4 separate regions of the Homo sapiens genome follow, and all the other regions are linked to region 1. The links are contacts of gene promoters, found by promoter capture Hi-C in blood cells and fetal thymus (Javierre and others, 2016). All regions are on one chromosome and are shown on one strand. The core of a region is centred on a gene start or on the middle of the fragment in contact, and the rest is flanking DNA. Distances in the headings are between cores, read along the strand shown.

Region 1 (2,933 bases), core at 144-2,643:
TATTCTTTTAAAAGTTTTTAATGAATCAACAGATTTGTCGGGGTAAATCTACATACAAGATGCTTGACTCCAGAATTTTCTGGGGGAAATTCAGACAAAAGCAAGCAAAAGATGGACTGCACACACAGAAGATGGACTATATGTATTCCAGCTATGATCAAACATCACTTCCACAAAGGTGAGTGTTCAGGAATTCAACAAGGCCAAAATCAGTGATTACATTACTTGTGGAAAGAGTCATTCATACATGGTTTCAAATTGAAAGAGGAAAAGATACATAAGCAATATCCGGAGAAAGTAATATGTCTCCAAGTGAAAAAGAAAACCCCAAAGGAATACAGTTATTTCAGCTGCAACAGTAACCTTCCACTAACACTTTTATTCAGTCGTGTATAAATTTACAACGCACATACACTTCAAAAAAGACTCTACAAGAGATACTTGCACAAGGAAAAGACTAAAAATAGAAAACAAAAAACCATGAAATCTCGGGGGTAGCAAACATACCAAACACCTACAGTTACTATTAAACTGGGTAAACTTGGCTTTGAGTTTCCTAAAAGTTATAGTAAAAAGGAACGTTAAGACGTTTTCATTTTAGAAATTAAGTTATCCTTCACTCTACTGCAGAGAACAAGAACGTCAAGTGCTGTCAGTTTTCCTATTTTGTCAAAATGTCCAAAACGAATTCAACGATGCCTGACTTTCTAAGTTCAATACCATAGAACCGCCATCGCGACAGCTACAAAGTGCATAACAGGTGTTTGCTGAACTGGCTACAAAGACAACCGAGATGCTCTCCCCGGCTCCGCCAGAGTTCGGCTCTCCGGGCCTCCAACCGCCCTTACCGGGCAATGCGAAGTCCAGGGCGGACAGCACAGCCCTGCCAGCACTCCCTGCCCAGCAGAAAGAGACCAAGCAACAAGAACCAGGGGAGAGCAGCTAGGAGCCAGGAGGGAGTTCGCCTTCGCGAATGGAGCGTGCCGAAGCCGCTCCAGCCCAGAGTCTGCTGGCGGCACCGGAACTGGGCAGGGTTGGGGGGCCCCCCATCTGGGCCCGGCCTTAGGTAGGGGGATCTCCTCTGGACCAGCCCCGGGTGGGGGGACTCACCTCGGGACCTGGCTGCCCGCAGGGGCTGACCGCAGGTGGGGGACTCACCTCGGGATCCGGCCCGGTAGGGGGCTCAGCTCGAGACAGCTCCGGGTAGACAGGGGAGGACGGCGGCAGCGGCGGCGGCTGCTGTCCCGGTGCGGCGGAGGCCGCTGTACGGGTCCCGCGTCCCCACCACGTGGGACCGGTACCCGCGCTCCTTCCGCCGGACGCCGGCGGCGCAGCGGGGAGGGGCTGCACGCACGCCAGGCGTCGCCAGCCGAGCGCCGAGGCGCCTCGCCCATTGGCGGAGACGGTTGCGCGTTGGAGGCCCGAGCGGCCCAGCCCGCGGCCCGCTCCGTGTCAGTCAGTCATGGAGCGGCCGCCCAGAGCGGCGGCGGGGGCGGCGGGGCGCGGGGCGCGGGGGCCCAGCTGAGCCGGCCGTCGGAGTGAGACCCTGCGGCAGAGACGACGGAGGCGGAAGCAACCCGATCCCGGAGGCGGCGGCGGCGGGGGGAGCCGGAGCCGCCTGGGATGTTCAGTGAGTGCCGGGAGCACGGGCGGGGAGGGCCGGGAGGGTCGCGAGGCGCGCGCGCGCGCGGGCGGGCGGGGGCCGGGGCGGTGGGGCCTCGGCGGGGCGCGCCTTGGCTCCCGCCGGCGGGCGGTGGGGGTGGGGCGCGGGAGGCGGGGCTGGGGGGCGGCGGGCGGCTCTGCGCGGGCGCGACGGCCGCGCCTCCGCCCTCGGCCTCCCGAGTCCCGGGCTGCGGCCGGCGGCGTGGCCTGCAGTCGGCGGCTACACCTGGACTGGCGTCGCGTTCCTGCGCAGGGGTGGGTCCTGCGGGTTGGATGCCGGGCTCGGGGAGGAGGTGGCGGGCGCCCGCGGGGAAGGTATCCCAGTGCCCGACAGCCAAGCAGGGAGCACGGCTCCACAGCTCCTTTGCATGTAGGGGAAAAGGAAATGTCTTTGCGGCGAAGTCGGGATTCAACTTTGCACATGGTGATCGTGCGTGGGTGGGTGTGGAGTCGATCTCCGCGTGTGACACGGGGGAGCCAGAGTTAGACTAGCTGCTGCAGGAGAGTGCTTACCTGCAAGGGTGTCTCTCGGGGCTCGTTGCCTCATGACAGCAAGGTAAGGTTGGTGCGCCCATGGTGTGGGACGGGTTCACCACCTCCAGCTCGCGAAGCTGCCAGGCTTTTGAAAATGTATTCGATAAGGCGTTGGTCCGAAGTGAGTGGATGGTTAGAAACAGTGGTGTCATTTTAGACTTAGCGGAAGTGGAGTGCAGGAACGCTACATGCAGTTCTCCCATCAGTTGTGAAAGTCGTTGTAATGCGGATCTCGCAGTCTTTGTGGTTCTGGGATCAGAAGGTAAGTGCCAGTCCCATGCAGTGTCTGTCTTAAATTACTGTACCTAAACTGACCTTGCAGATTGGAATCTCGGAATGGTGACTCCTGCTAACAAGCAGTTGGGAGCTGTGCTGAGAGGAACATTAAGTGCGGAGCGTGTCTTATATCAGGCGATTCAAGTGTGCCAACACCTGAGTTGGGGATGTAGGGGAGGACACGGAGGCTGTGCCCCAGTTCCTGGTCACAGCTCTACTTGGAAGGGGGAGTAGGAAAGGGAGTTTTGTGCTTAATAGGTTAAATGCATCTGGCCACATCTTTAAACTTTGGAACAGCATAATGTAGTGGATAGAGCTTGGTGACAGTAGACCTAGGATGGAAACCATGTAGCCATCTGCATAACCTCTCTGAACTGTAGTTTCCTCATCTATAAAATGCGATGATAAGGAATAACTTAAACGTGGATTTTTTTTTATCTTTAAGAGACAGGGTGCCTCTA
Region 2 (2,999 bases), core at 111-2,610, 430 kb before region 1:
TCCTGAGGGAGGCTAGGCCAGCTACAGGTCAGATTGACCAGCCTAATTGAAACATCAGGGGCATTTTTGCTTAAGAAGGTGTGGGGAGGGAGAACATTTCTCCCATGTAGGTAATTGACAAGTCCTCAACAATTTATGAAACAACTGGAGATAAAAGGTTGAAAGTATAAATGCCCATTGAGATAACAATCACCGATTCCACAAATATTTATTGAGTATTTACGTTTTGCCAAGCTCTATTCTAGATTACTGGAGTGCACGGATGAAGAAGGTGAAGAACATCTCTGCCTTCAGAAAAATCTCACACCTTCTAAGAGTGAGTGCAGTGCACACAGTCCAGAGGGAGTCAGTTTCAATGCATCCATGAAGATAAAGGGCAGTCTCCTAGGTCTATCCACTCTGCAGGAGGTTGGCGAGGTGGGGAGGTGGAGATGTGCGCTTTTCAGGGGCCTGACAATGGTGCTGCGGAAGCTCAAGTTGGAAATGAGGAGGCTCTGCATGCCAAGAGCAAACTTCTCAGACTGCAGATTCTCCCCAAGACGGGTCTCGTTAACTTCAGAATCGGTAGAGACAAACAGAAACTGTGCATTGAAATATTTCTGACATGCAGCTGTAAGCTGGCAGCTCTGCTTAGAATGACTTATGAAGATGTTTTGTTTTTATTTTTGAGCATAGTCGATTTTGAATAAATGAGCCTTGTTCCCAAGGAATTTCTAATCAACGTATCACTGTATAAACCAGCCTTTACCCTCAAGGAACTTATTCCCTTGTTTGACAAACAGAGCACGCACATGTGAAATAGATAGTAAGGCAATAAATAAAGTGGCAAATGCTGGATATGGACACTTAAGAGGTTAACAGAAAATTTTAAATGTAATATATATGGCGGGGAGCAAGTCTAGTTGCTATCAAAATCTCTTGGGGATTTCCAAATGATAAAAGGTTTATTGTCCTTAATCTCCTGCTGCATTAATCCAACTTTTAAATCAGGAGCTGCCCTCAATTGTTGTGGGGAGAAGTCAGAGAATGGACCCATCGGTGTGGGCTGGAGTTCCAAGGAAGGGTCGAGGGGAGGGTTTGAGTTGGGCTTTGGAGGATGGGTATGGTTCAGACATGAGGGTGAGCATTCTGGGAGGCGTTCTCGACCGCAGACAGCTGTGGTGGAGGAGGATAGGCCCTGGATCTGAGAGCTTGGCTCTCAGGCTGCTATACCTGAACTTGATCCAACAGCTGACAGAGGGGTGGTGGGTTTTTTAGAGCAAGGGAGTGGTAGGATAAAAGCAACATTTTAAAAGATTAATAGGTGATTTCAGGACCTGTTGGGGTAAGGGGACGAGTCCATGCTCTGCAGCTGGATGGGGTGGGGCAGATCTGAGCTCCAGTCAGGTCTCTGAGGGAGCAGGGAGGAATCAAACAAGAGCTGGCTGGGAAGCAGCAGCAGCTGGACTTGAGTGGGAAGGTTTAGGCAGGAAAGGAGACTCATGGTTAAAGACGCCCCCATAGCCCCAGACTTAAGGAAATGGGTGGACTTTAGTGAGAAGTTCTATTTATTCCATCAGCCATTCTCTATTAGGCGCTTGCTTTGTGCCAGGCACTGTTCTAGAAACTTGGGTTACATCAGGGAACAAAACAGACTTAGACTGGGTGCGGTGGCTCACGCCTGTAATCCCAACACTTTGGGAGGCCAAGGCAGGTGGATCACCTGAGGTCAGGAGTTCAAGGCCAGCCTGGCCAACATGCTGAAACCCTATCTCTACTAAAAATACAAAAAAAAAAAAAAAAAATAGCCGGGTGTTGTGGTACACCCCTGTAATCCCAGCTACTCAGGAGGCTGAGGCACGAGAATCACTTGAACCTGGGAGGTGGAAGTTGTAGTGAGCTGAGATTGTGCCTTGGTACTACAGCCTGGGTGAGAGGGTGGACTCTGTCTCAAAAAAAACCAGGCCGGGCACAGTGGCTGATGCCTGTAATTCCCAGCACTTTGGGAGGCCGAGGTGGGTGGATCACCTGAGGTTGGGAGTTCGAGACCAGCCTGACCAATATGGAGAAACCCCGTCTCTACTAAAAATACAAAATTAGCCGGGCATGGTGGCACATGCCTGTGATCCCAGCTACTCAGGAGGCTGAGGCAGGAGAATCGTTTGAACCTGGGAGGCTAAGGTTGCAGTGAGCCGAGATCACACCACTGCACTCCAGCCTGGGCAACAAGAGCGAAACTCTGTCTCCAAAAACAAAACAAAACAAACAAAAAAAAACCAGACTTAGGTCCCTGCCCTCCTGGGGTTCCTACTGTAGTGCAGTGGTGGATGGGGAAGGGAGGGACTGGCAGTAAGCATTCAACACAATGAGTAGGTAGAGTAAATACAAATTGGCCCTTGAACCACATGAGGTCTACTCATATGTGGATCTTCTGCCACCCTTGAGACAGCAAGAAGAACTCCTCTTTTCCTCCTTTACTTCAGCCTACTCAACATGAAGACAATGAGAATGAAGACCTTTATGATCATCCATTTCCAATTAATGAATAGGAAATGTATTTTCTCTTCCTCATGATTTTCTTAATAATTTCTTTTCTCCGGCTTACTGTATTGTATGGACACAGTATTTAAGACATATACACAGTATGTGGTAATTGTTTATGTTATCAGTAAGTCTTCTAGTCAACAGTAGGCTATTAGTAGGTAAGTCTTGGGGGAGTCAAAAGTTATACGTGGATTTTTGACCACGAAGGGGGTCAGTGCCCTAACCCCCATGTTGTTCAAGGGTCCCCTGTAGTGTGTTAGAAGGTCACATGTACACTGCACACAAGGACAGGTGGAGCAGGGAAGGGGAGAGTGACAGTGAGTGCGGACTCAGTGGCCACCCTGGATATGGTGAGCAGGGGTTATCTGAGCCCAGACTAGAGGGAGGTGAGAGAATCAGCCAAGCAGGCACCTGGGAGAAGGGCCTTCCATGCAGGAGCTAAAGCAGTCAGGCGAAGTCTCTGAGGCAGAGCTTGT
Region 3 (2,700 bases), core at 142-2,641, 490 kb before region 1:
ACAGATGTGACTGAATTGCTGCAAACTCATGATAGAACCTGGAAAAAGACATGGAAGAGCAAAGAAAGTGGTTTCCTGAGATGGAATCTATTCCTAGGGAACATGCTGTGAGCATGTCAAAATTACAACAAAGGATTCAGAATAAACTTAATTGACAAAGACGTGGCAGGGTTTGAGGGAACTGACTCCTATTCTGAAAGAAGTCCTACTGTGGGCAAAATGCTAAACAGCAACGCATGCTACAAAGAAATCTTTTGTGAAAGGAAGAGTCCATCAATGTGGCAAATTTCATTGTTGTCTTCTTTTAAGAAACTGTCGCAGCCACCACCTCAACCTTCAACCACCACCACCGTCATCAGTCAGCAGCCATCAACATCTGGGCAAAAAGACTATGACTCGACTTGCTAAAAACTCAGATGATCCTTAGCATTTTTCAGTAATAAAATATTTTAAAATTAAGATCCGTACATTGTTTAGGCATAAGGCTACTGCCCTATTCACAGACGGCAATACAGTGTAAACATAACTTTGTATGCACTAGGAAACCAAAAACTGTGTGTGACTTGCTTTACTGCCGTATTTGCTTTATGTGATGGCCTGAAATCAAACCCACAATTTTCTCAGACGTGTGTCTGTACATTTGTCCAAACCCATAGAATGTACAAAAGCAAGAGTGAACCCTCCTGTAATCCCAGCACTCTGGGAGGCCGAGGCAGGTGGATCACAAGGTCAGGAGTTCAAGACCGGCATGGCCAAGATAGTAAAACCCTGTCTCTACTAAAAATACAAAAATTAGCTGGGTGTGGTGGCAGGAGCTTGTAATCCCACCTACTTAGGAGGCTGAGGCAGGAGAATCGCTTGAACCCGGGTGGCAGAGGTTGCAATGAGCCGAGATCATGCCACTGCACTCCAGCCTGGGTGACAGAGTGAGACTCCATCTTAAAAAAAAAAAAAAAAAGAGTGAACCCTAATGTAAGCTGTGGACTTGGGAGACTTAAGGATGTGTCAGTGTAGGTTTGTGGACTATAACTCTTGCGAAGGGAAACTAATAGGGGAAGCTGGATGTTGGGGTAGCAGGTATACAGGCACTCTCTGTACCTTCTGCTCAATTTTGCTGTGAACCCAAAACTGCTCTAAAAAATAAAGCCTATTGAAAACAGATTTGCACGTTCTACATGGTACATAACCATCCATCTTTACTGCCATTAATGCCACACCACGTATTTAGCACCAAGATCCAAGAGCTCAATTCAGCGTTCTGGACCAGACTAAAAGGTGAGCTGAGTGCGTTTACTGGGTCAGCTGCATCATTTCCAGCCCGCAGGCCAGTTCGCCGGGTGGCATCCAGGACTTACGAGGTCAAGGGAATGTCTACCTGCTCCACCGCCAACGCTGTTTCCCCTGTTCATGTCCCAGCAGTGCCGGGTTCAGCCCAAGCCCCTCCTCTCGCTGAGAATCCCTCCTACCTCACTACAACTTAGAAATATCTTTCCAACATACAGACGTAATCGTGTGGGAAACGTCTGCCCATTTACAAACCTCAAGTGCCTCACTGAATTTCGCCAGTGAAATTCCCAAGTGACAAAGGATGAGATTTGTTCTCTTCTTCCAGGGCTCAGTCTTCACCAGGGAAAATTGACTTAGGAAGATTCCTTCACAAGGAATGGCCGGAAGCTACTGGGGGACAGCAGAGAAAGGAACGACTAAACCTCCCCCTAGAATGAGGCGCGGAAACACCAGGAAGACGAACTGAAAACCTGACCCTGAATGTGGCCAGAGGAATCACTGTGGCCCGTTTCCAAGAATCTCAGATTACCAGAGACACAGCTAAGTGGGCAGAAACCCCCTGTCCTAACAGAAGCCAGCTCCGAACTGAAAGGAAACACACGTCAAAAACGGCTTTCCTTAAAATGAGACTCTGACAGCCAAGGCTGGGAACGCAAGGGTTTTCATTCTATCACGTCAAGCACTTCACGGAGATGAAGTCCTTCATTCACTGCCTCACCCCGTGAGTCAGATGCTCAGCACATGCTGACGTTATTCTGAAAAAAAAAACAAAAAACAAATCCAATGACTTGCCCTGAGCCACAGCCATTGAGTCACAGGCAGAACTGGGAAGAGGCCTCGCTTCCCACATTTGGCAAGGCCAGTGACCCCTTCCCCGAAAAGACCTTCACAGAGATCATGACCTCTTTTATCTGATCAGGTGCAAACAAGCTGCCAACACTCCCTGGGCTTCTGAAGGCAAGGAGAAGAGCATCTGAAATCCCGCACGCTGTCTGTGCTGGGGAAAGTCCCAACAGGCAACATCAGCCCCAAGATACTCTGAGCTCCTCAAGAGCCACTCAGCAGCGATCCATCCCGTCCACTTCTTGAGCACTTTGCATGGGACACTGGGTTCCACTGTCATTGCTCAGCCGTTGTCCCACATGGCTGTTTAGCTGTGCTATGCAGGCTTCTTGCCCCAGCAGGTGGGGTCAGGTCTTCTTCTTATCCACCTCTACCACAGCTGTTCCTCAATAACAGCTCCCAGCTGACAGCAGCTCCGCCCTGCAGCTCCAGGTATAAACTGGAGTTTGCCCGCCATGTAAGTGCTGCGCAAACTGGATTCCTGAGTCAAGGAGAGAAGAACAGAGAAAGAAACTGGTACAAGGAAGACTGAGCCCTGGAAGAAGAGAACAAAACTCACCCTTTTTCAGC
Region 4 (2,875 bases), core at 204-2,703, 450 kb before region 1:
TGATTGCTGAACATGGGAAAGAGATCCCAAGGAAAGACCAGGGCAGCTAGGAACCGGAGGGCACTCAGGGGGTCTCAAGGCAGAGCATATTTAACAACCAGCATGGAAGTGCCCCACTGTTACATGTGAGTGGCATGGCTAAGCCAGTGTGTTTCCATCTGGATATCCACTGACTTGTACGGCTCAGCATCACCCATGCAGAGCTTCCAGAAGAGGCTTCACAAGGACAAAAGCACAAAAACCAACAGGGAGCATAGACTTGGCCAGGTTTGTGTGTTTTCTCATCACGTGAATTCTGCTGGGCACTCCAGGAGACTTCACAGGCTTTTCCCAGGAATACCTAGCTTCCCTTCCTGGGATCTCAGCCAGAGCCTCACAGTCGACTCCTGCTTACACCTGTGTCTCTGTCCCAGGCAGCCTCACCGCACCCCCCGCCACCCCCGCCCCACCACACCTGCTTTCACTAAGCCCACTGCCTCTGGACTTGCTAGAAGTTAGGCAGGACAGTGGCCTTGCCTGCTTTGACACTAAAATCAGTATCTTCCCAAACTGACTTCCCTCTCCCCAAAGCCCTAAGAAACATGAGCAGTAGCAAGAAGAAATTATGTCTTCCCCAACCCAATCTCCCCCACCCCCTCTCCCATCATTTTTCTGACCACCTCTTCCTCTGTTCCAAACAGGAGACCAACCACTCACCCATCATTCATCCAAACAGGAGCTAGGGTGGGGAAACTGACAGCGGGTCTGAAGACTCATAAAACCTTCACCAGCCTCCCAGGTGTCCCCCACCCCAAGGTCCAACAGAGCCTGGGCAAGCTGACCCCACTCAGTGCTGGGTAAAGCAGTTGCTTTTTCATTTTTGCTCAAGGGTCTAGGGAAGAGCTCGTTACTTTTGCACTGTTCAGCAGTCACACAATCTGTTTCCATTATGTTTGCTGACCCAGAGGCAGCCACAGCTTCACTCCAGAATTGGGAAACTTTATTTTCTTTAAAGAGAGAAGTTTATGTTACAGTGCCACTGTCGGATTATCTGGCTATACAGTGGTTTTCCCTGCTACTGTCCTCCCTGTGTCAACTTCAAACTCTCATTTGAAGTGGACTTTCTTTAAACTCCAAACTGATGATAGGTGGCAAGGAGTGGTATGGGTGTTCCCCTCCGCATCCACCAAGATGCTCACAGATTTTTGGCACCCATTAAACCACGTGAGGGCCCCATGCTCCACCTCAAGTCATGCATGCTTCCAGGGATCACAGCGACCTGCCCTTCTAACAAGAGGGGCAGGGCTACAGAGGGAGAGCAGTGGAGCTCAGAACCTGGGATCCCACCACAGGAACCCCTCGTTCAGGGACACGTCTGTCCACTGTTGGACACTACAACTGCCTAACCGCCAAGGCAAGCTGCACCCTCCACCCACATTCCCGATGGCTGCCCACTACTGGGATCCCCATTCTGACACCACAATTGGGTACAAGAGAGCTGGCATGGTGTCTGGACAACTTCCCAAAAAGTCCGTCTCTAACAGCATTTAAGATTCATAGCCCAAACCCCAAATGAACCAGTCAGATCAATCTCAGAGGTGGGGGTAACGGATAAAAAAAAGAAAGACGACTATTTTCCAGAAATCAAGAATTGTATCAGGAATACCGTGAACTTAAGATTCCTGGTTCACTACACTTTCAAGGGGATATTTAGGCTTTTATTTTTTCATTTTCCTCTTTTAGAGATAGCAGTTATTCAGCACCCACTAACAGTATTTAACTCTCCGAACAAGGCCATGAGGTAAGAATGATTACTCCCACTGCAAAGATGAGGAAACTGAGGGTCAGAGAGGTTCAATGCATCAGTGAAGGTCACTAAGCACAAAGAGGTAAACAGCTAGGTCTCACTCAATGCCAATAAGTGGATTTGTGCCATTTCCCTTTAATGTCTACTACTAGCTCAAAAACATTACTAGTTCCCAAATGGTTCAGCTTGGCATTTGAAGCCCGTTACAATTTAGTTCTGAATTTCTCCAACTTTACACCCTAACGTTCCCCTCCATGTGTACCATGGTCTAGCCCGGCAAGGTCCTTCACTGTTCCAAGAAATAACCTGCCCGCCTCCCCGCATGATTCCTAGAAGATCCCACCCAAAGTCCCCCACCCTTGGACTCTCGGGCAAGGGCCACAGGACTCGTGCCAGCTCAGGGAATAAGGGTGATGCTACTGTGCAAAGTGGACAGGCTCCCAGGGCTCCGGATCATGTCCCTCAACTAACACCGTCCCTTACCTCCCAGCATGCAGGCACACAGGCAAGGGGTCTCAGGCTCCACACACTCTTACAGCAGAGAGAAAACCCTTCCCTTTCCACCCTAAACAGCCACACTTCACCCACAGGCAGCTTCATTTCCAGAGAAATCCCTTCCTCTCTTCTGCGGCTCCATCCACTGCCAACGTACCAAAGCCCAGGGGAGACTTAACATGGTTAAAATTTTAAAGCATTTAAGAAGCTCAAAGGAAAGGCACGCTTGAAGTGCAAATCATCAATTTAGGGGGAAAGAGCAAAATATGGGGGGAAAGGGTATGGACACAAATGTAAATGAAACATAATTTTAAACAATATTTTGAATAAACTGCTTTAACATACATGTCCTGAGCCTGGGTGTTGAGTCCCGAGTTGTGCGGCAGTGCCTGAGATTGGTCTTCAGCACTCCCTCCTGCTTAGTTTACTAAACCTGCAATCTGAGGTGAGCTGGCTCTCTGGGTTTTGCCAAGTGGAGAATAACAGTTCTGTGATGAGTTACTTAACAGGCAGGGCACACAATGACAAGCCTGGGCTGGGCTGCTGAAGCAGCAGAAATCCTAGTTGGACTCCCCTCAGACGATCCCTAAAGCC

Evidence for each region. The method cuts DNA at HindIII sites, captures the fragments that hold promoters and counts their contacts. A CHiCAGO score of 5 or more calls a contact.
Region 2: a fragment that was not itself captured here is called in contact with the fragment with the promoter of TAF5L in region 1 in 1 of 17 cell types (fetal thymus); the score reaches 5.3 in fetal thymus.
Region 3: a contact is called between a fragment that was not itself captured here and the fragment with the promoter of TAF5L in region 1, in 1 of 17 cell types (fetal thymus). The highest score is 7.9, in fetal thymus.
Region 4: a fragment that was not itself captured here is called in contact with the fragment with the promoter of TAF5L in region 1 in 3 of 17 cell types (fetal thymus, activated CD4 T cells and non-activated CD4 T cells); the score reaches 9.1 in fetal thymus.

The regions. Positions count from the first base shown.
Region 1 is chr1:229,624,582-229,627,514 of GRCh38, reverse strand. It overlaps TAF5L (TATA-box binding protein associated factor 5 like), which reads left to right and starts at 1,393. Exons shown (of 5, transcript NM_014409.4): 1 at 1,393-1,630. It overlaps URB2 (URB2 ribosome biogenesis homolog), which reads right to left and starts at 1,268. Exons shown (of 10, transcript NM_014777.4): 1 at 1,159-1,268. RefSeq lists enhancers at 695-774, 2,435-2,484 and silencers at 965-1,664, 1,755-1,944. The HindIII fragment of the contact is 3,723 bases long and covers 1-2,933 here.
Region 2 is chr1:230,052,712-230,055,710 of GRCh38, reverse strand. No RefSeq gene overlaps it. Among named protein-coding and RNA genes, the nearest start is that of GALNT2, 13 kb to the left of the region's middle. The HindIII fragment of the contact is 4,956 bases long and covers 1-2,999 here.
Region 3 is chr1:230,113,265-230,115,964 of GRCh38, reverse strand. The region is part of intron 1 of GALNT2 (polypeptide N-acetylgalactosaminyltransferase 2); the gene reads right to left. Among named protein-coding and RNA genes, the nearest start is that of GALNT2, 47 kb to the right of the region's middle. RefSeq lists an enhancer at 1,516-2,700. The HindIII fragment of the contact is 5,726 bases long and covers 1-2,700 here.
Region 4 is chr1:230,069,930-230,072,804 of GRCh38, reverse strand. The region is part of intron 1 of GALNT2 (polypeptide N-acetylgalactosaminyltransferase 2); the gene reads right to left. Among named protein-coding and RNA genes, the nearest start is that of GALNT2, 4.1 kb to the right of the region's middle. RefSeq lists a silencer at 1,127-1,307. The HindIII fragment of the contact is 4,639 bases long and covers 1-2,875 here.